5 separate regions of the Homo sapiens genome follow, and all the other regions are linked to region 1. Evidence: promoter capture Hi-C in 16 types of primary human blood cells and fetal thymus (Javierre and others, 2016). All regions are on one chromosome and are shown on one strand. The core of a region is centred on a gene start or on the middle of the fragment in contact, and the rest is flanking DNA. Distances in the headings are between cores, read along the strand shown.

The links. Contacts are between HindIII fragments. The CHiCAGO score rates a contact against its expected background, and 5 or more counts as called.
Region 2: a contact is called between a fragment that was not itself captured here and the fragment with the promoter of DNAJC19 in region 1, in 3 of 17 cell types (total CD8 T cells, naive CD4 T cells and non-activated CD4 T cells). The highest score is 7.9, in total CD8 T cells.
Region 3: a contact is called between a fragment that was not itself captured here and the fragment with the promoter of DNAJC19 in region 1, in 5 of 17 cell types (naive CD8 T cells, total CD8 T cells, non-activated CD4 T cells and 2 more). The highest score is 10.9, in naive CD8 T cells.
Region 4: the fragment with the promoter of CCDC39 here is called in contact with the fragment with the promoter of DNAJC19 in region 1 in 1 of 17 cell types (naive CD8 T cells); the score reaches 6.6 in naive CD8 T cells.
Region 5: a fragment that was not itself captured here is called in contact with the fragment with the promoter of DNAJC19 in region 1 in 2 of 17 cell types (total B cells and non-activated CD4 T cells); the score reaches 7.0 in total B cells.

What each region holds. Positions count from the first base shown.
Region 1 is chr3:180,987,676-180,991,784 of GRCh38, reverse strand. It overlaps DNAJC19 (DnaJ heat shock protein family (Hsp40) member C19), which reads left to right and starts at 2,049. Exons shown (of 6, transcript NM_145261.4): 1 at 2,049-2,185; 2 at 3,556-3,607; 3 at 3,689-3,762. The coding sequence starts at 2,183. The HindIII fragment of the contact is 8,604 bases long and covers 1-4,109 here.
Region 2 is chr3:180,627,995-180,632,413 of GRCh38, reverse strand. CCDC39 (coiled-coil domain 39 molecular ruler complex subunit) reads left to right here. Exons shown (of 20, transcript NM_181426.2): 14 at 822-945. Among named protein-coding and RNA genes, the nearest start is that of TTC14, 28 kb to the right of the region's middle. The HindIII fragment of the contact is 2,409 bases long and covers 1,414-3,822 here.
Region 3 is chr3:180,608,179-180,612,599 of GRCh38, reverse strand. TTC14 (tetratricopeptide repeat domain 14) reads right to left here. Exons shown (of 12, transcript NM_133462.4): 11 at 3,790-3,899; 12 at 1,470-2,970. The coding sequence ends at 2,058. Among named protein-coding and RNA genes, the nearest start is that of TTC14, 8.2 kb to the right of the region's middle. The HindIII fragment of the contact is 3,548 bases long and covers 1,357-4,421 here.
Region 4 is chr3:180,677,678-180,682,046 of GRCh38, reverse strand. CCDC39 (coiled-coil domain 39 molecular ruler complex subunit) reads left to right here and starts at 2,558. Exons shown (of 20, transcript NM_181426.2): 1 at 2,558-2,756. The coding sequence starts at 2,667. CCDC39-AS1 (CCDC39 antisense RNA 1) reads right to left here and starts at 1,966. Exons shown (of 2, transcript NR_046725.1): 1 at 1,857-1,966. RefSeq lists enhancers at 2,057-2,106, 2,187-2,286. The HindIII fragment of the contact is 3,343 bases long and covers 138-3,480 here.
Region 5 is chr3:180,587,047-180,591,655 of GRCh38, reverse strand. The region is part of intron 1 of TTC14-DT (TTC14 divergent transcript); the gene reads left to right. Among named protein-coding and RNA genes, the nearest start is that of TTC14-DT, 13 kb to the left of the region's middle. The HindIII fragment of the contact is 2,432 bases long and covers 94-2,525 here.

The DNA.
Region 1 (4,109 bases), core at 800-3,299:
GTCCTTTCTCATTCTTTTGTCCCTACCCCCTCTTTTGTCTTTTATTACTTTCTATAGTAAACTAAATAATGTGTTCCAAAGATTTCAGGTCCTAATACTTGGAACCTGTGAATGTTACCTTATATGGCAAAGTGTTGGAAACTATGATTAAGTTAAGGATCTTAAGAAGGGGAGATTATCCTGGATTATCTGGGTAGCTGGTAAATGCAATTACATATATCCTTTAAGAGGAAACCAGAAGGAGATTTTACAAACAGAAGAGAAGGACAATGTGAAGATGGAAAAGTTGGAGCAGAGTGAGATTTCAAGATGCTGGCTTACAAGACTGCAGTGATTCAGTCACAAGTCAAGGAATGCTGGCAGTCACCAGAAGCTAGAAGAAATGAGGAATGATTATCCATTCATCAGTCAGTGGACATTTAAAAAGATTACTTTTCAAGGCTGTTTCTAGGATCTTGGCAGGTAGGTAAGAGGCAACCAGACTTAAGATTCATGAGTGAGGTATCATGAGAATGAGGAAGGCTTCTACACTCCAATTTGCACTCTGGCTTCCCTCATAATAATAGCCCCACACTGAGTGATGACCATAAGCAGAACACAATATGTGCATAATCTCTACGTTCACAAAAACTCGGCAAGGTAGTTATCATTACCTTCATTTTACAAATGAGGAAGAAACTCAATCAGAAATAACTTTTCCAAGTCACAGTATTAGTAAGTGACAGAGCCAGGTTACCTCCAGTTTGATCTGCCACCAAAAAAAGAGCTATCTCCAGCTCAACAAAATGTCTTGCTGTGTTGCTACTCCCAATTTCCTGAGTCTGGGTTTTGTAAAGTCTCAAAGCTAATTAGAGTCTACTGTAAATCTATTCCTCCAGAAACTGCATTACACAGTTTGTACATACCAAAAATATGCATAATAAATTTTTCCAGATAGCATTCTAGCTTGTTGATGCCAATTTGGTCCCAAGGTCTTATGCCTCACTTGATTATTTATTTTGTAATTGTTGGGTAAAAACCAGATAAAAGAGAGGCAAAAGAGGAAGTTATAAACTTAATGCTAGTGTCTTAGTGCTGGATGTCACCTTAAATCATGTGTTGACAATAAATTACATCACAAAAACCTTAGCGCTAGAAGAGCTCTTGGATTATCAAATGCAAACTGCTTTTACAGATGAGGAAAACAAACCCAAAAATTTTGCATATTTGTTTAATAACTAACAAACTCATCAAAGCAGAATTGCATTGCAATGTAAACGGATATTTAACACTGTAAATTCTGAGTGGGAAGTAACTCCAAACTTATTTTGATCATGCAAACGTTGCATTGTAAAATTCCATTATTGTCTCCATTATTTTTTTCTTCTCAAGCATTTATGTAGGGATGTATGAAACTGATGTCCACGTAAGGGCAAAATCCAGCCCTACTTTTTATTTTGGGTGAGGAGGAAAACTTTTAAATAGCCCTTTTCAGTTGTAGGATCTTGACATTCCATGTTCAGAATATGAACTGTCTTTAATCCCATTCTACAAAACGAAAACCCAAATATTCACAAAGTCTTGTCAAGTCACATCCTTAAATGAAGTTCTTTTACATTAAAAAATGCTACCGAGCAATCCCTGAAACACAGTGTGGTTGGTTTCATTTGTTTTTCTGGGCATCTCGTTTCCTACACTGGGTTACAACATATTTGTTTGGGTTCGTGGTGGAAATGTCACAGCATGTTTAACTACATTCATTACCCTTGACAATTATTAACATAAAATAAAGGCAAAACGAGGTGCTAAGATGTAGGGGGAAAAAATCGGTCTGAGTAAGGCTGCCCATGCCCTTCCCTGCAAGAATTTCCAAATACCCACCGCCCAGGAGCAAAGGACAGAAAACACAGAGAAGCCCCACCCCTACACCCAGAAATAAAGAGATCCGCCCACCCTTCAACCAACCCGAAGTCGCTTTCTCCGCTCTGTCCACTGCTTGAGCGACTTTCCTTCTCCTCCGCGTCCCCTTTTACGACAGTTTTCCGGCCTAGTTTGCGGCTGCTCCTGCCGTGTTGCGTAGGGCGCCTGTGCTTGAGGTTGGGGGTTGCGTCGCTCTCTGGTAAAGGCGTGCAGGTGTTGGCCGCGGCCTCTGAGCTGGGATGAGCCGTGCTCCCGGTGGAAGCAAGGGAGCCCAGCCGGAGCCATGGTGAGTGCGGCCTTCCGGTCTTCTTGGCGACCTCCGGCCCAGGCCTCAACCTCAGCTCCCCGCCTCGGAGGTGTGGAGTTGAAGTTGTGCTCCTTAGTGCGACTGCGGGCGGGAGGTTTCGGTTATTGGGGAGTCACACTCACCAGGACACAACCCTGTTGGCTCGCTCTCTTGGGGGTTTGTGTTTTTACATCGTCTTTCTGCACGGTTCTCCAGCTTCTTGTCCGCACGGGCTCTGCAGGTGTTGCTTGCCTGGAACTCCTGTAAGGTCAGAGGCTGTCATGGACTCGGAGATTAGTGGAAACGTATTTGATTATAAGTGCCCTTGCCCTAACACATCTTCACAGCACTAGCTCCACTTTGCTATGTCCTTCTCTTTGGCTTTTGCTGACAGATGTCTTCTCCATGCTTCCTGAACATATTTGGGCCTGTCTTGTTAGGAAACAACAGGGCAGTGCCAAAGGTATTAGTCTCCTAGTTTAGCCCACGTTTAGCCTCGAAAATGCGTTGTTAGAATTTTACAGGAGCCGTCTGTAAACAGTTTTTCCTTCTGTAGCAGAAACCTTATTTCCACATTTTTTTTTTTTTTTTTGAGACAGAGTCTTGCTCGGTCGCCTAGGCTGGAGTGCAGTGGCACAATCTTGGCTCACTACAAGCTCCGCCTCCCGGGTTCGCCATTCTCCTGCCTCAGCCTCCCAAGTAGCTGGGATTACAGGCGCCCACCACCACGCCCAGCTAATTTTTTTTTTTTTTGTATTTTTAGTAGAGACGGGGTTTCACCATGGTAGCCAGGATGGTCTCGATCTCCCGACCTAGTGATACGCCCGCCTCGCCTCCCAAAATGCTGGAATTACAGGCGTGAGCCACCGCGCCTGGCCTATTTCCACTACTTTTGATTGAACTTTAATGTGACTTAATTTGTCTGGTGATGAAAGAAGTTTTCAAAGGGAGGGAATCATCTTTTTCACTATTGTAAAGATAAATAAGCAAGTCGAACTTGCCCTCTTTCCCATATGATGAATCCTGTAACTTTAATGCATTCAGCATAACAGATGCAGTAGTTTTAAAGATTACTGGACAGAATATTTCCGCCTTAAAAGTTGTTTCTCTGCCAGGCATGGTGGCTTATGCCTATAATCTTAGCACTTTGGGAGGCCAAGGTGGGAGGATTGCTTGAGGCCAGGAGTTCAAGACCAGCCTAAGCAACATAGCAAGACTCCGTCTCTTAAAAAAAAAAAAAAAAAAAGAAAAAAAAAAGTTGTTTCTCCTATTAAAATGCAGTTTGTAATGAGTTGGGGATGGAAGAATGGGCAAAATGAGAAAGGGTGGGAATTAGAGAAGTAAATATTTACTCTTCTCCCCCTTACCAGGCCAGTACAGTGGTAGCAGTTGGACTGACCATTGCTGCTGCAGGATTTGCAGGTTTGTTTATGGTTTGGGGATGGAAGTGAAGTCGGGGAGATTGGAGATTTAGTTTACTTATTCTGTTGCTTTTGGTTTTAGGCCGTTACGTTTTGCAAGCCATGAAGCATATGGAGCCTCAAGTAAAACAAGTTTTTCAAAGCCTACCAAAATCTGTAAGACTTTGTTAATTCTTTGCTGCTTCTATTTGAAACCTAGAGCCACACTTAGGGAAGGGTAAATTTCCAAATATCCATGAAGTTCTAAGTGATTGCTTTGGACCCATTCTCCTGCTTCCTGCAAGGAGAGTATAGAAGTTCTGAACTTTGTGATGGTGCTACCCTGAAACATCAGATGTTATATGTGACAGAGTTGGATGGGGTTTTGACAATTCTAGTACCCCACTAGACCCAAGTTTCACTTTTTCACATACCATCACCTTCAGCATCATCTGTACATATTCTTGTTTTCCTTCATCTGCTCTGCATCGCACACACAGAGGTATATGATTCTAAAGTGATCC
Region 2 (4,419 bases), core at 1,369-3,868, 360 kb after region 1:
CCATGGTTAGAGAGCTTACTTGCATGAGTTTGTAGCAGGCAGTTGAGGCACTCTCCATATTGCCAGGCATATATTAAGATTACTAGTATTAAGTTCTAAAAAATAGCTCATAAAATATAAATTTACTGAAATAAAAGGAGAAAGTAACCAACAGATTTAAGAATCTGAATTCTGGAAGACAATTCTCAACCGCCCTGTTTGGACTATCTTTTTAAAGACGTTTGAATAGCAAACAGCCTCAGAAACTAGAGGTAGTATCTCCTTCTGGAGCAAAAGTTAGGCATGTTTGCTTATTTCCCACTATAAAATATTTGGGTTACCTAGGCTTGAGATTCCTCAGCTGTGATGCAAATCTACTGTTTGCAGCATCCACTTGAGCCCCTTCTTGCTCCCATGGGATGTAGGGAGCAAGGGGAGCCAGTCAAACAGGAATCTTATGCTTCTTGCTGTGTCATGAGAAATAAAGTCCGTTGTCTCTGAAACAGGGATTGTGTCTTCTGCCAGCAAAAGACACAATGAAACTGTGGCAGGCTAACTTGTCAGCTTTCAAGTAGGGTAAATATCAGATCCTTCACACTGAATTATTAAATTAAAACGTGAGAACAAATTTAATCTGTTTGAGTTTAGTAGTTACACAAATCCAAATGTCTTCAATAAGAACACCTGATAGTCTTTTTATTAAATTAAAACGTGAGAACAAATTTAACCTGTTTGAGTTTAGTAGTAACACAAATCCAAATGTCTTCAATAAGAACACTTGATAGTCCTTTAAAAATTGTAAAGTATGTTATTCATTTCTCAGTGTTTCTTTTTCTTATTAGCACTGAGTTTCGCGAGCGGCTAAGTAAAATTGAGAAGCTGAAGAATAGATATGAAATTCTGACTGTTGTTATGCTGCCTCCTGAAGGAGAAGAGGAGAAAACACAGGCCTATTATGTAATAAAGGTAATTTTAATTGATTCACAGTTGTGATGGTATGAAATTTTCTTTGTTAACTCATTCATCATAATCCTCTGAATTTAAATAAAAAAACAACAATATTGCAACTTTCCCTCCATGAAATCTAGCAACTATTTCACTTAATTAGGGCCACTATTACACTTAACAAAGGCCAAAACATTCATTCCTAAATGGAGATACTGAAAGCAGTATTCATTCTATATACCTCTAGTCCGTGAGGTCAAGCACTGCCCTCTGATTCCCAAAACTTACTGTGAACTTGCTCCAGAAGTCTTCCTCTTTTGAGTTCAGGTCATTCTACTTGACCATTCTTTGACACTTTTTTCTTTTTGCTATTATTTGCAGAATGTCATTTCTCCTAGGCAAGATTCGTAATCTTTTTAAGACCTATTATCACTCTAAGTGTCTTTGGTATGCATGTGACAACCTGTTCAACAATTGAGGCTTAAAGCTTTCCTTTACTTCACTATAGCCACCCACTCTTATGCCACACCCTGGCTGGACCTTAGCATTTCTTGGAGCTACACCACCTCTGAATTTTAAACTCCAGTTTACCATTAGAGTCCTGGTATGGCAGCTGTTCAGAGAGGAAGAGGGCTGCTTCCCTGCCCATATATCCCTATAATATGATATTATAGGGAGACAGACCAGGTGAATCTGTTTTTTTCTGATGTTTGACAGTTGTCTGTCATCCCATGGTTATCTTTAACCCAAAGGGGAAATTCATTAAGTGATGTGGAATTGAATGCTATTCTCTAAGCACTGCTATATTCATCTTTCCCATGTAGAAAATACCCTGAACAGGAGTAATTTCCTTTACAGAAAGGTCTAGGAAATTACTCAAAATGCTACAAACAAGGGATGGAACTTGTAACTTTGACTCACTTCCCTGTACCATACATGAATAGGGGTGAGATCATCTTCCAGTTCACACCTTCAGAGAATGGCTCTTGTGGATGCTCTCTCCCTTTGATTTCTACCAACTTAATTGGCCAAATTTTCTCCTGTAGCTCTTCTTCAAATCTGCCCCTAACAAATGCAGCAAGTATGGTATGCCTGTCACTTTGCTTGAAATTCTGCCTTCCCTATGAGAAATCAGTCCCAGCTCTCAAAACTTTCTTATAACTTGTCAGTCTGTAATACCTCAGGCTTCTGCCCAAACAGGACTTTTCTCCTCTCAGGTTTTAAAAGTTCCTGAAGGATAAAGGGTAGGCTCTAATTTTTTAGGTATTGGGAAATCGGAAGATGTTGCAATTCCAATTAAGTTTCTCTAACAAGTGGTGTGATGGGTTACCTAAAAGTACTGGTGTTAAGTGTGCCTTCATCCATATCCTACCACTGCTTCGGTAGGTGACCAGGAATAAGTTACTTAACCATGTGAGGCCTAAGTTTCCTCACTTGGAAAATGAAGAGGGTAATATTGTTACTTTTGTTGGGAGAAAAGAGAAAATACATGTAAAGCCCTTGGGACGGTGGCTGGCACAAAATGAGTCCTCAATAAATGTTAGTTATTATTATTACTGTGATGATGCTGATTAACCTAACTCACAGGAACACAGACAAGTTTTATATGAAGAAAGAATATTCCTTCTGTTTACAGTGAAAGTGCTGGATAAATATCAGAATAATGATTATGCTAAATGAACTGAGGCTATCAGTTACTTTCTCAATGTCCTGATGCCATATTTCTTATCTTCCATCTTCTCTGGGATCCACAGCTTGCCACGCAGTTATTCCCATTTTTTGTTGTTGTTGTTGTATAGCATGTTTACACTTTTTACTGGTAACACTTCACAAGTCTCAGATGTGTAAAAATGAAACTTAAATAATAACTAAACTCAGTCTAGCTTATATCAGGAAAAATTATGGCCTGAAAAATAGAGAAAAGCAAACCATGGGTGCAATGATGCCAGTGCATGGTGATACCAAGGTGTTGGCATTTTCTAGTGGGCCCTCCAGGTATTATCTGATTCTATAGGAGTGCAGACCTTCGACTCTCTATTGACTAGTTTATTTTACAACTCTGTAGGTATAGATGATAACTAACTTGCAGACAACTGATAGTAACGTAAGTGATATCTTGCTGCTAACAATGTAAATGAATTTTGGCCAGTAGAAATACAACTCTGCTCTGTAGAAAAGATAACCCAAGCACTGAAGTTTATTACACTAAAATATATTAATATGTTTTGCATCTACCAGCAAATTCATGTCAGCATTTCTGATTCAACATGTCTATAATATAAAATCTGTTTTCATATTCTTCTTTGAAATAAGTCTAAATATCTTACTGGCTCTTCATTAACAAGTTGAGTAAAACCTTTAATAAAAGTTCATTTCATATTTGTATAAGAATTTTTAACTATTTGAAAATAGTACCTTGGCATTTTCACTGCTGGGACAAACCTTGCCAATTAGAAGTTAAGTTTTGTTTTTTCAATGTAAGTCTGTTTTCCAACGTAGTGGATTCTGTTTGTTGATGTAGTAGATTTAGGATTTAAATTTAGTCAGTTCAAAATTTTTTCCCTTCCCTTATTCTTCTTATGTTATCTACAAAGGGATCTCTCCTGATGGATACATATATTATGTTTATGGCTGTGGGTAATAGGAATTTGATTACAATGCTAACCACTGTTGTGTTTTCTGAATGTTGTGGATGAGGCCTCAGCAAACTATGCACTCCAGCCAAATGCTGCCCACCACTTGTTTTGTAAGTAAGTACTGGAAGACAAAATACATACACTTATTCATTTATATATTGTTTATGGCTGCTTACATGCTACAATGACAGAATGAAGTAGTTTCGACAGACTGAATGGCCCATAAAGTCTAATTACTATTTGGCCCTTTACAGACAAAGCTTGTTGACCCTTTTTATTAGTTTCTAGGGCTGCTGTAACAAAATACAATAAACTAGATGGTTTAAACAACAGAAATATATGTCTCAGGCCAGGTGCAGTAGCTCACGCCTGTAATCCCAGAATTTTGGGAGGCCGAGGTGGGTGGATCACGAGGTCAGGAGATCGAGACCATCCTGGCTAACATGGTGAAACCCCATCTCTACTAAAAATACAAAAAATTAGCCGGGTGTGGTGGTGGGCACCTGTAGTCCCAGCTCCTCGGGAGGCTGAGGCAGAATGGCATGAACCCAGGAGGCGGAGCTTGCAGTGAGCCAAGATTGCACCACTGCACTCTAGCCTGGGCGACAGAGTGAGACTCCGTCTCAAAAAAAAGGAAATATATATCTGATACATCTGGAGTCTAGAAGTCCAAGATGAAGGTGTTGATAGGGTTGGTTTCCTCTGAAGGCTATGAAGAATAACCTGTTCTATGCCTCTCTCCTAGCTTCTGGTGGTCTGCTGACAATCTTTGGTGTTCCTTAGTTTGTAAATGCATCACCCTGAAATCTGCCTTCATCTTTACATGGTGTTCCTTCCTGTGTCTCTTCACACAGTTTTC
Region 3 (4,421 bases), core at 1,881-4,380, 380 kb after region 1:
TTGGATGGAGTCATGCTGCGTTGCCCAGGCCAGTCTCAAATTTCTAGCCTCAAGCAATCCTCCTCCCTCAGCCTCAAGTGCTGGGATTACAGGCATGAGTGACTGTACTCAGCCCCTCTTGCTTCCACTTTTGAGGTCTGAATCATGAATTCTGCCTACGCCAATGCTGGTAGGTTGGCAGGGGGGTAAGGGATGATAAATTATGAAATGGGTACAATGTACATCATTTGGGTGATGGTTACACTAGAAGCCCAGACTTCACCACTACACGATAGATCCATGTAACAAAAATGCATGTGTACCCCTTAAATTTATATGAATTAATTAAGGAAAAAAAAATTTTTTAAATGTTGTGTTTAAAATTTTAAGCTGAACTAGGGATTCCAAAAGGTCAAAGGCTATGTATGCCAAGAAGTAGTTTTCACTCTTTCTTTATAAACACGACTTTGTAAAGATGATACTGGAGCTATTAATACATAGAATTATTAAGGACTCTTTTTAAGATGAATTTCTTAAAGAAGCTTCTTCTTGGTGCAAAGACTAATGCTTTGAGTGACTAGCCGATTTCTATCACCATTATCTATTGCTCTTGACCAGGGTTTCTTTTCACTGTTCCATTTGCAAAAGAAATTTCAGATTTTTCACTAGGCTCTCATTACTGGAGTTTGATAGACACAGATAATACACACCCAGTACTTAAGGCCTGGACATTTTACTGTTGGCAAGAACTGCAAGACAGAACAAGGAATAAGTCTCTTCTTCCTCTATTATTCTCCCTCACTTAGACCTCTGTAGATCCTCAGCTACCCACCCACTTATCTAGTGTCATTGTGTGTGACAGTATCTAAAGTCCATTGTAATTTACAGCTTTGAGAATCTTAAACTGCAAACTCTAATGACATCATAAACCCAGTACCTATGACTCCTATCTCTATCTGTCTCCCAAAGAATATACCACACTATTTTCAGCAATTTGGGGAGGATCTTTATAATCCAAGTCTCTTTGTTCTTCAGCTCTAGCTGCTGGAATTTATTATTCTTAGTAAAACCAGGCTCTAGTTGGTCTAGTTATTTATTCAGACTCTGAGAAAGGGGTCATCAGAGAAGCATCAAGGCACAGGAGGTGGTAAGAAGAAATGCAGGTCAGATTTAACGACATGCCTAGTGCCTTCTGGACTGAACATCTGCTACACTAGGAGAGTCTCCCAATTTTCTTTCCCTAAAGAAAAGCCAGATTTACAATGTGCTTCTCTGCTACTGCTATGTTTTTGCTAAAAGGATTTTTTTCTTTTCTGATTTACCCTTGCGTGGAATACAGGCCCTAAGGGCCTTGTAAATATTTAAAGTTAAAAAGCTTTTTATGGCTATGCTAGCAATGAGGTAAAAAATAATGGAGAAATAAGCAAAATGGGCTCCTATTCAACTTTTATGATCTTATTCCTAAGGCACTTATGCTGGGTGGAAGCCAATGACTGTTCACAAACCACTTTTAATCAAATTGGGCTTTAGAGGAAAATTAAGACATATAATCTACCATTTAAAAATTTTAAAAAAAATTGGGCAAAAAATGTAATATTTAAACTGATAAATATAAAAGTGTTCAAGAAACATTCGAACATATAATCTTTCAAAAGCTGACGATTTTTAATTTAACAGAAAAGAAAATGAAATTAATTTTTATAAAAATGATCCAAGTGTTCAATGCACAAATTTTTCTCTCAAACAGCAGAATAAGATGCACCCAGGAATTCTCATATACCGCAATAGAATGAAGAAACAGTACTTTCAGAGAATTATCTTTAGGTGAAGAAATTCAAACTGTCAAGAGTAATATACTGTACATAAACATATACATAAAAAGTCTAAAAACCAAGCTGTGACAAGGGACCTAGAACTGAAACAAAATTTGAGAAAAACTTACTTAAAAGCATTTGTTTCCTGTAATCTCTACAAATAATTTTAGAAGCAGAGATTTCTGCACTCAACTGTTATGACTAATACAACCAAAAACTTCACTTAATGGCATTTTGTGTAATGGTGCCGATATCCTTGGTGTATTAATTTTTTGACTTATTTCCTTTTTCTTTTTCAAATTCAGCTATCTGATTAAATATATTCAGTAAATTCTGAGGTAAATTTTTCTTAACACTGCTTTCTGAGTGTTCTTTGCTACTTAGTGCATCTTCTTCTGGAACCTCTGTTTTGATATCCTCCCCATAATTGTCCTCTCTTTCATATTCTCCTTGATTTGTATTTAAACGGTATCTTTGCTCATGTCTACTGAAATCACGTGATCCAGAGTGAGCGTATTTTTTGTATTTCTCAACTGACTTCCAAGAGTATTCTGAGCTTGCTGGTGAGGTAGAATGCCTCACAGAACCTGGTTCCCACCTTCTATAGTGCTCTTTTCTTCCCTCTATATCCTTTTCAAATCTCCTATAACCATAAATCTTGTCCTCTGAATTCCTACAGAAGGAATCTGAGGAATTTCTTCTACTGGAAAAATGTCTTTCTGATTTATATGGCTTTTCTGTTTTGCTACTACCTGCTTGGGTTTTATAGCTGTTATAAAAATCTCTTGGATCTTCAGACCTACCTCCAAAATCATCCGGTATTTCAAGTGAAGATGAAGAGAGAGGGCATCTATCTTTCTCTTTTATCTGTGTCTTTTCATACTGTAACCTATCCTGCTTCCCCAGTAGTTTCTCCACTTCTTGTTTATGGTTAAGAAAAGATGCTGAAGTATTAGCTGGAACTGGGTAGCACTCATCTTTCCTATTCTGATCTATCTGATTTGAGGATGCCCTAGATGAATGCCTTCTGGAACTGCGAGAAGACTCTGAACGGTTCCTCTTATGTTTCTTATGCCTTTTGTGACCAGAAGAGGAAGAGGATGATGATGAAGACACTGATTCATCAGCAGAAGAAACACTTGAAGAAGAAGTTGATTTTCTTCTTTTCTTCTTTAGCCTAAAAAAAACAGTTCATTTGTCATATATATACAAAAATGTTTCTAAATTATTCATAAAGATGTGGGCCCTATTTGTTTCCTTTAAAGATTTTATAAAAGCTGTGGTTCAGATAAATGATACAATAATCTCGGCTACTACAAGATCTAATTTTACTATTAAGCACTTTTGGGGGAAAAAATGCTTGCAGACAGGTATCATTGTAAGCAAATCCATCATCTCTGAAAGACAGACTTTTTTCAACACTACCTTAAAAACTTAAGACTACTGAACACATAAAGGAGAACTCAACTTTTTTATTTGGCTACCTCTAGTTCATGGTTTCTTCACCTGATTATTGGTATTTTCAGCCAAATAATTCTTGGTAGGGGGTGGGGGTGCGGGTGGGAGCTGACCTGTGCATTACAGAATGTTTAAGAGCATCCCTGACCATTATACACTAGATGCAGTAGCACCCTATCAGTTATGGCAATCAAAAATGTCTCCACATCTTGTCAAATGTCCCCGGGTGAATAAATCCACCCCTAGTTGAGAACCACTGCTCTAGTTCTAAAATATTTCTTCCTAAAACATAATTAAAGTAACTTATTCTATATTTTAATTCTAAGATACTCTTTTTTTGTAGAATTCTAGCCTTAAATTCCACTTCATCTCTTTAATAAGAAAATACATGGAACACATATTTGCTAAAGATTCTTAACAGTCACTGATTGGCACTTGAAATACTTTCATATTTTTATTTACTTTACCTCCAGTATGGCACTTTGGGTTCAATTCAGTAGTTGCCTTAAGTTTAAAAATACTGAATATTATAGTTTACCTCTTCTCTTCTTTTAAGAGCTTACGCAACTTTTCTGCACTTGTTTCTATTTTCTTTGTTTTCTGCTTTTCTTCCTTTTCAGCTTGTTTTTCTCTTAATTCCAAAGATTTCTTTTAGAACCCAGATATCGAAAAAAACCACACGTTAAAAATAGCAGAATATATAAAACCCAGTATTCAAAAGACCACCCCCAACGAGAAACCCAATTTAGTAAAACCAAATCACCATAGAGCCAGCATTAAACAGTATTTTTTTAACATAAAAAAATTAGTCATACAGATGTTTGGCATTAGTCATTGAAATGGCCAGAACAGCATTGAGGACCATATTGCAGTTGGTATCCCATAAAAAAAGGGGAAGCCATTGCAGTGGTACCCATGACCCAGAGTGCAAGAAAGGTTAAAAAAAAAAAAAAAGTACATAAAAATTATTTTTAAAGATTGAAAAATTTAAACAGGACACATTTTACAAATAAAATTCAAATAAAGACATTCCGTTAAGGTGAAGTGAAGGAGGAATCACCATGTTCAAATACAAACCATTTAAAAAAATAGCACAGCCCAGTTGGATGCATGATTACATAGGAAATCATTTTCCAGTTTGTGGATGGGGATGAGCAGCACCAGATGTCA
Region 4 (4,369 bases), core at 1,309-3,808, 310 kb after region 1:
TTATTTTTGCAGAACAAATAAACTTTATGTTTTAGCCTGCGCAACTTGATTTGGTGAATTTAAGGGAATAAGACAGTAAAAGGGTAACATCTTCTTTAGCATGTTGGAATTAAATTGAGCATTTCAACAACAAAGCTTATAAAACTATGGGTTTTGTTTCCAAAGCTAGATCTGGATGAATGCAAATAGAGTTATGGTCTAGAACTTGTAGAATTCGAGTGGGAACTAGGTGATACGAGATTCTGTAATGAGATACCATTTTAAGGCAGAATTGTAGAATTTGGAGAAAGCATGGGCATTTCATCTAGAAGTAAATATCATATAATTGTTATCCTCAAATTCAGGAAATGGAATCTTTGAGAAATGAGACATGGGATTCTCAGAGCTTCAGTTGCTAGACTTCTTATGCCCGTGCGGTATAAGGGCATGGAACTTACCTATGTAACTGTTTCTGTAGGACGTATTCCTAGAAGTAAAATTAATGGAAAGATGAAAAAGACTCCACAGTCATGCATTTGGCAGCTACAGCTGACACTGAGAGGGGTGCTTCAACTCATTGGCACAGGTCGAGGCAGCTCAGTATTCATATTAAAAACTGGGATGGTAAATTAGGTAATTTTAAGATACATGGGTGATAATACCAATTATTTTATTTTTACTTTTTGCTGTATTAAAAGGTAATTAAATGTGATTGGTTTCCTTAGCTCTTGTGAAGGTATTTTCGTAGGTGAATAGTTTTGTTCCAATTGATGTTTCTGTGAGGGCTGATTGCTGGAAGTCTTGTTCTGCCATTTTCCTCCCCACCTTTGACCCAACACCAATAATTTTAGAAAGCAGCATTGCCACAACATATCCCAAGTATAAATAACTATGTACCATCTTAACATAAGCTGAATACTAACATTTTCATTAGTTGGAATGACTAAACTATTATAAAATAAGTAATGATCATTTATAAAGGATTAAATGTCATTATATCTAAAATTCCACTATTACATGCAGGTCAAATTTCTTCTACAAGTTGAGCCTTTCTCCCCAGCCTTTAATCATTGTAGAAAGGGGGAATAAAATGCTTTGCTAATTCTAGTCTTTAAAGGCACTAAGTCCACAAGATTAAGTTTATGGAAAACAATGTAGGCACAAAGAGACAAAGCTCCTACAGGAGGATTTCAGAACTATAGTGACAAACAAATCGACTGTAAAAAGACATTTTTAGGACAGTCGAAATATGAATCTGAAATGGTTATTAGATGATATTGAAGAATAGTTGATTTTTATAGGTGTGATAATGATATTGTGCTTATGTTAGATAACATTAACCACTCTTCTACCAATACATGCTCATGTATTTAGGGCTGTAATGTCATGATGTCTATGATTATTTTTTCACTTGAGCAAAAGATACAGATGATGCTAACATGGCAAAATATGAATGCTAAATCAAGGTGATGCATATATAGCAGTTATTTATACTCTGCTTTCTATTCCCATATACATTTAAAATATTTATAATAAAAGTTTAACAATGTCTAGGTAAAATAAAATTCGAAAGAGCAAAAAAAATTACAGATGATTATTGGATACGTAAAATTAATTCATGCACAGCATCCCTTCTTTAATCACTTTGCCTCAAGGAGCCTCGGTTTAACTTACCGAGAAAATGAAAGGATTAGATTAGTTGATTGTTTTGTCCTTTCCAGTTCTGAGATACTATACAAGAGAGACTATAACTCAAATGCCTACCCGTGCCAAGCAGGTAATTCAAATTAGTGAACTGGTAAAGTGCTTTGTTGGTCTAAAGGGGGCGCCTCTCCAGCGGAACATTGCCTTTTGATAATGGGGATTGTGTCACCTACCCTTTTTCAAGCAGAGGAAATACAGACGTTTATGCGAAATTCCACACTTTAAATGTTAGCAAACAAAAATGCAAAGAAAAATGCAAGTATGGGAGTGGTGCCGGAGGGACCACCACACCGCGCCACAAGTGTGCGGCCTCCGCGCGGTCCGCGTCTGTGATCGACTGGGACATCCGCGATGGGGCCGGTGAGTGCGGTGAGGAAGGCTGGCCGACTGAAACAGGCGACGATCAGAACATCCCAGTGATGCCAGAGAGAGAGTTGTTTCCAAACACCAGTTCACTTCGGTCTACTTTCACCTACTGTAGTAGCTGAAATCTACACAACACAGCAAACACACCTTGAAAAGAAACTTAGTTTATAATCCCTGTTGGCTCCCGTCTTCCCCCAGGCAATCGGAGGATCGTGTGGTTTACTTCCAGCCAGCTGCCCCGTGGTCCTCCAGCCAGCTCCGGGGGCCACAGTTTTCACACGCTCCGGGAGCGATCCGAGAGCCGCCTTTTCGTGGAAAGTTACGCTGCCGCCTGGCAACCCCCGGGAACGTCGGGAGGGGCAAGTTGCTGCTCATCCCTCAGTGCTCAAGGTAAGAAAAAGATTCTTCGGCCTGCAGGCAGGGAGTTCTCAACCGGAAGTTTCGCCTTCGGGCTGGAGCGTTTCCTGTTTGGTAACTAAGGACGCGGGAAGGTTGCTAGGGCTCCCCCGGCAATTGCCGCGGCACTGTGCAGGTGCCTGGGCTTGACGCGGGTGCTGCTCACCCGCTGTACAAGAAGGCGGATCTTTGCTCTGTATCTTCTCTATCCGTTTGCAGTCATGAGTAGCGAATTCCTGGCTGAGCTGCACTGGGAGGATGGGTTCGCCATCCCGGTGGCGAACGAGGAGAACAAGCTACTGGAAGATCAGGTGAGATCAATTGAAGCAGGCGGGAGGAAGCAGAGAGAGCCTGTTGGGGGCGTTTTCTGGTTGGCAGTACTACCCCAGCCCTTTTATTTCTCTCCTTTCCTAATCCTGTGCTTCCTCTAACACTCCCCCGCACCATCGCCCTCCTCCCTTACCCTCTCTGCCTATTTCAGTAATTGTTAAGCATTTAAAAATGCTATTAAAACCATAATTGACATTTAGGGTTATAAAGCTCGAATTATTACTCCCTTCCTCATGCCCACTCCTCTTACTTATTTCGTTCCTCCTGGCGAGAGAGGAAAGGCTGGTTCCGGCGCCCGCTTTTTCCTTGCTCAAAAATTAAAGAGCTACTTGGAAAAGAATTTCTGAGGTTTGCATAGCAACGGTTATTTGCGCACGTTTATAAATTAAACTCCAGAAGGTTCATATTTCTTTGTGAGTTTTTGTCTGTAATGTTTAAAGCTGAAAGTGACTTGAGATGTTTTCAAGAGGAACAGCCCGGTAAGAATGAAATGTGCGGTTTACAGTTTTTCAAAGAGAAGATTGAGTTGTCACAGATTAACATAAGAAATTTTACGTTGCAAGGACGAACTTACACTAACTACAATTCATAGCAGTTGTTAAAAAAAAAAAAATTGCAGGCCGGGCGCAGTGGCTCACACCTGTAATCCCAGCACTTTGGGAGGCTGAGGCGGAGGAACCCTAAAAGCCAGGAGTAAAACAAGCTTGAACAACAAAGCGAGACCCCCCACAAACCCCTCCCACCGCGTCTCTACGAAAAAATAAAAAAATAAAAAATTGCAACCGGGTCAGCAAATTTTGAAAAACTTTGGTGGTGATATGTTGTGTAGAAGAAGGTCCAAGAATAACAGATGATGCTTACACAACTTTGTAAAACGGAACAGAAAGTTTTCTCAGCTCTAAAAAAGGAAAATGAAAATCCTGTTACTCTACCTTTTGAAAACAATGGAAATGCTTTTTAACACGTTCTGACCTATTTACTCATGTGTAATTTAGAAGACTGCAATTTTTCCCCAAAGGAGGGCAATATTAGGAAATGTAAGGGATCTAGCACTGAGTACCGAGGAATTAATACTAAGTATCCAGCCCTGGGTTCAGATCCTACTTACCAACCCTAATCCTGCTTCTTTTTTTGTAAAGCGGAGATGGAGATGAACAAACTAATTACTTCGCGGGCTCTAGGGACATAATATGGGTTAAGGTTCCATCCAAATTTTAGGTTTTAGTATTCTTGCCATAATATGTGTCACACAGGATTTTTATGTACATATTAAGTATATTAGCTCTTTTAAAAAAGTATAGAGCCATATAAAGAAGAAAAATGAGCACCACAATTGCATTAAATTAAATTGCTTTTTAAACTCTGACATTTAAAAAGCAACTCCTGTAAATTTAAGATATTCAAACAGAATAGAAGGGTATGAGATAAAAACATAAGGTATTTCCTCTCCAAAGTGTCCACTGTACTGTAGAAATGATTACCATGGCATTAAACACACATTTCAGACATCTTGGTATACAGATATACAGAAAGAAGAGAAAAATGAGTATTATAATGGAATTATATATATGCGGTATTTAACACAAAATATTTA
Region 5 (4,609 bases), core at 60-2,559, 400 kb after region 1:
GTATTAAGGATGAACTGTAAATGTTATGTGAATCAGAAACTCGTAGAAGTATCAATATATTCTCCGGTGGAAAGCCAACTTCAGTCAGAAGCTTGTTTGTGAGCCCAAAATAAGAACAAAAACAGCCTGTTGGGTATTTTTTAATGACTAATTTCATCAAACTATGTAATCTTATGCATTCATTTCCTCTGCATGTGTATTTCTTCTAAGACATAAAAAACTCTGCTTACCTGTCATCCTTTTCTTTCTCCCTTTAATCTCTCTTTCTTTATACACACACACACACACACACACACACACACACACACATACACACGTATATAATATATAAAATATACATGTATGCATATGTAAATATGTAACTGAATAATAGCAAATATATTGAGAATATGACTGCTGCTATGTGTGTATATGTTTGAAAACTGCTTTCAATTTTGTTTTAACTTTCTTAAGATGGAAGCCCAATATATAAAATAGACAGGAAGATACTGAGAACTCAACCAAGTAATATATTTTCCTTTTTGTTTCCAGCCCCCTCTCCCTCATACACAGCAAATGATGGCTGGAGAGGTTACCTTTAAGTCAGCAATCCCTAACCTTTTTGGCACCAGGGACCGATTTTATGGAAGACAATTTTTCCATGGACTGGGGCAGTGGGGATGGTTTTGGGATGATTCAAGTGCATTACATTTATTGTGCTCTTTTTTCTATTACTATTACATTGTAATATACAGTGAAATAATTATACAACTCACCATAATGTGGAATCAGTAGGAGCCCTGAGCTTATTTTCCTGCAGCTAGATGGTCCCCTCTGGGGATGATGGGAGACAGTGACAGATTATCAGGCATTAGATTCTCATAAGGAGCATGCAACCTAGATCCCTTGCCTGTGCAGTTCACAGTAGGGTATTCACTCCTATAAGAATCTGATGCCGGCTGGCTTGGTAAGCGGGGGTACCCGCGGGCCTCCCCAGACCACTGCGTCCTCCGTAGCCCACGTAGCCTTGGCACCGCGTGCTGTGGGGGTCCTAGGCCCTCCGCTGCAGGGCCGGGGCACCGGTGAGGCCGAGGGGCAGGAAGTCACCGCCCAGCCTGGCAGTGTGAACGTGCAAGTCGATCCCCTAACCCAGAAAGCCCCAGGTGTGGTCTGTACGGGCGGCCCTGCTCCTGTTTTATTTTTTCGGGACAGGGTCTCGCTCTGCCACCCGGGCTGGAGTGCAGTGGTGTAATCACAGCTCACTGCAGCCTCGACCTCCCGGGCTGAAGTGATCCTCCCCCCTCAGCCTCCTGAGTAACTGGGACCACAGGTGCACCTGGCTGATTTTTAATTTTTTTTGTATTTTTTTTGGTAGAGATGGGGGGTGTCTTGCTATGTTGGCCAGGCTGGTCTCAAACTCCCGGCCTCAAGCGATTGTCCTGTATCAGCCTCCTGAAGTGCTGGGATGACAGGCATGAGCCACTGCGCCTGGCCTCTTTTGAATGGGCCTCCTTGCGTTTCTGTTTCAATGCCTGGTGCTACTTTTTTGGGAGCCCCAAGGCTGTACTGTTTGACTCCTTTTTTCCCCCTTTCTTTTTAACCTAAATTAAAGCTGCCACTGAAGAGCCCCACCATGGAAGACACGCCGTTGGTGATATCAAAACAGAAGACAGAGGTGGTGTGTGGGGTCCCCACCCAGGTGGTGTGCACGGCCTTCAGCAGTCACATCCTGGTGGTGGTGACCCAGTGGGGAAAATTGGTATCTGTGACTAGGAATAGTCTCTCTGTGGTAGTCCATGCTTATGGGACAAATATCTGCATACTTCTTGTATTATGGTTCTTCAGGGAAACAGAACCAATACGATGGGTATATGTATATTTAGAAGGAAATTTATTTTAAGGAATTGGCTCGTGATTTAGGAGGCTGACAAATCAAAACATACAGAGTAGGTTGGCAAGCTGGAGACCAAGGAAAAGCTAATGCTGCAGTTTAAGTCTGAAGGCTATCTGCTGGTAGATGGCCCTCTTTCTTGGTGGAGGTCAATCTTTTGTTCTATTCAGGTCTTCAGCTAGCTGGATGAGGCCTTACCCAGATGATGGAGGGCAATGTGCTTTACTCAAAGTTCATCAATTTAATTGTTAATCTCACCCCCTAAACACCCTCACAGAACATTTAGAATAATGTGTGACTACATATCTGGGCACCGTGGCCCAGCCAAGTTGACATATAATTAACCATTGCAATTATGTCCTACTTCAATGCCATATTTTAAGACAATGAAGCCTATTTAAAGCATTACAACCCCATGATGGTGAAGCAGCTGGAAATCACATGATTTGAGGAACAGCTGAAGTAACTAGGAATGTATAGAAATACTGCCTTGTTTAATCTACTGGGTTTCACACTTAATACACAGCCAATATCTGAGTTGCATCATCATTTCTTACATCAGAGTTATAATATGAATGGTAGAGATTTCATAGTCTTTTGGTGTAAAATTGCTTTAAGTTCATTTAAAGGCCTTTATCAACAAAATTTCTAAGCTTATAATGCTTTTTTATTTTTCCACTTTCAAGTTCTAGAACTTAAAGATATTCCTTATCCTCCATGGTGGTTTCTGAAAAATAATTTATGTGTTGAGCACTGAGTAAAAAATTTGGGGTCATGCGATGACTGATTTTGCATGGGTCATTGACTCCAGGTGACTTCCTTTTCTGAGCTATCGAAGATCATTCCTAATTGTGGCAGCCTAGATTTTTGCTGTTACCCATTTCATGTCTATTTCTGTGGCCACATTTCACTTCTAACAAACAAAAGAAACACCGTTATGTTAGGAAAGTTGTTTGGCTATGTTTTTATTATTTTTTTCCTGAGACTTTTTATTAGCCAATAATCCAGAATTTATTGTATCCATTTTCATTGGAATCGTAGTGACAAGCATCAATATGAGAATTGTAACTCAGAAATTCACCTAACGTTTATTTGACTATCTCCTTGTTCCAAATAGCTGTAGGTGCTGGGAATTCAGTAATGAACAAATCATAGAAAAATCCCAGTTGAAAAAAGATAGTGTGAGTGGTTATTGCTGATGTTTTGCTTTCATCCTGAGAAATGTTCCTTAATTCTAAACCTATGGACTTGGATATGAAAGGAAAAGTATTCTGTTTTTTATAGCTTCCATCAGCTCCACAGAATAAAATATCTAGTACCCTTTTATGATTTAAAGATGTAGGGAAGAAAAAAATTCACAATAAAATAGTATAATTTCACAATAATAAATATCATCACCTTGACTATATCTGTATAATTAAAATATTTCTAAGCCATTGCCATTACCTTTTATTTCAGGCTGAATTAAAGATAACTCATTTTCTAAATTGCATAACAAAGTAGTCTCTGTAGGACCCTTGGAGCTAGTGTTGTGCAAACTGTATCAGTGAAATTTCTGTACCATTTACTAGGATATTTGTTTTACGGAATAGTCTTGGTTTACATAAACTCTTTTCCCAGCGTTCATGGAAGCAAGAGAGTTGAACTGGGATACAGATTTTCTTATGATAGATTATATTAAAAATGATTAAACAAAAATATGTTTTATATAGATAATACTAAGTGGATTGACAGCATATTGCTGCTGAGATTTTTCTTGGAAGTCTGTCTTTTACAAAACTGTTTGTCTTTTTCAAACATTGATGCCTTATCTGTTCTGAGAACTCATATGTGATATTTTTGGCATACTTGTCCATTTAGGTTGTATGCAGCTTTCAGTTTTCCTAAAACTCTATCATAGGTGTTCATTTCAGTTTCTCTAAGATCCATGCAAGACTCATGTTCACTTGGGGCATATGACATGCTTCCTCTCTAAGGCTAGCCCTACCATGTCACATCTTAGGTCTTGGAGGGAGGGATGAAAATTCTTTTAGATCTTCCTCACTTTAGCATCCATTTACTCTTTTCCACACACTATGTTTTATTTTCCCAGAGACCATGAAGTGATCAAATACCAGCTCCCTAAGGAACTCTTTTCAGTTTAATTAGAAAAGAACAGTATTTAGTTCCTTTTTTTTTCTTCTGGAAGTCATTTCTAGCTCCTGTACCCATCTTCTTCCTCTGTTCCAGTAAGTTATCTTTTGTCCTGTATTGCCAATCAGTCTTCCAGCCCTATCTTACCACGTCACATACCTGGATTAAAGTCATTGCAGTAGTAATAAAATTTGACAAATCTGGTTTGCAGACGCATGGCAACTGGGGATAAGGTATGGTGGCATGACTTAGGAATTATTGATTTTTTTTCCTGGTCTGCGTGATTAAATGGTGATCCTTTTCTCAGTTGGGCACTTACCATAGAAGGGTAACTATTGTTTTAGGGACTGTCAATAATAGTATACATGAAGAAAATCAAAAGCCTTGACTCCTGATTGCAACTATGACTGAGTAACTGGTACAAGACTAACCCTTCCGCCATTAACAAATCCCCTGCCACAGAAAGGAAACAAAATTATATGAAACAACTGCTTTCAGATATCGGACAACAGGTCATGAAGGGTTTCACTGTCTGAGCGAAAAAAAAAATAAACTAGATAACTGTTATTATTGTCGAGTTTTCTGGTTAGAGGCACTTATTGGGCA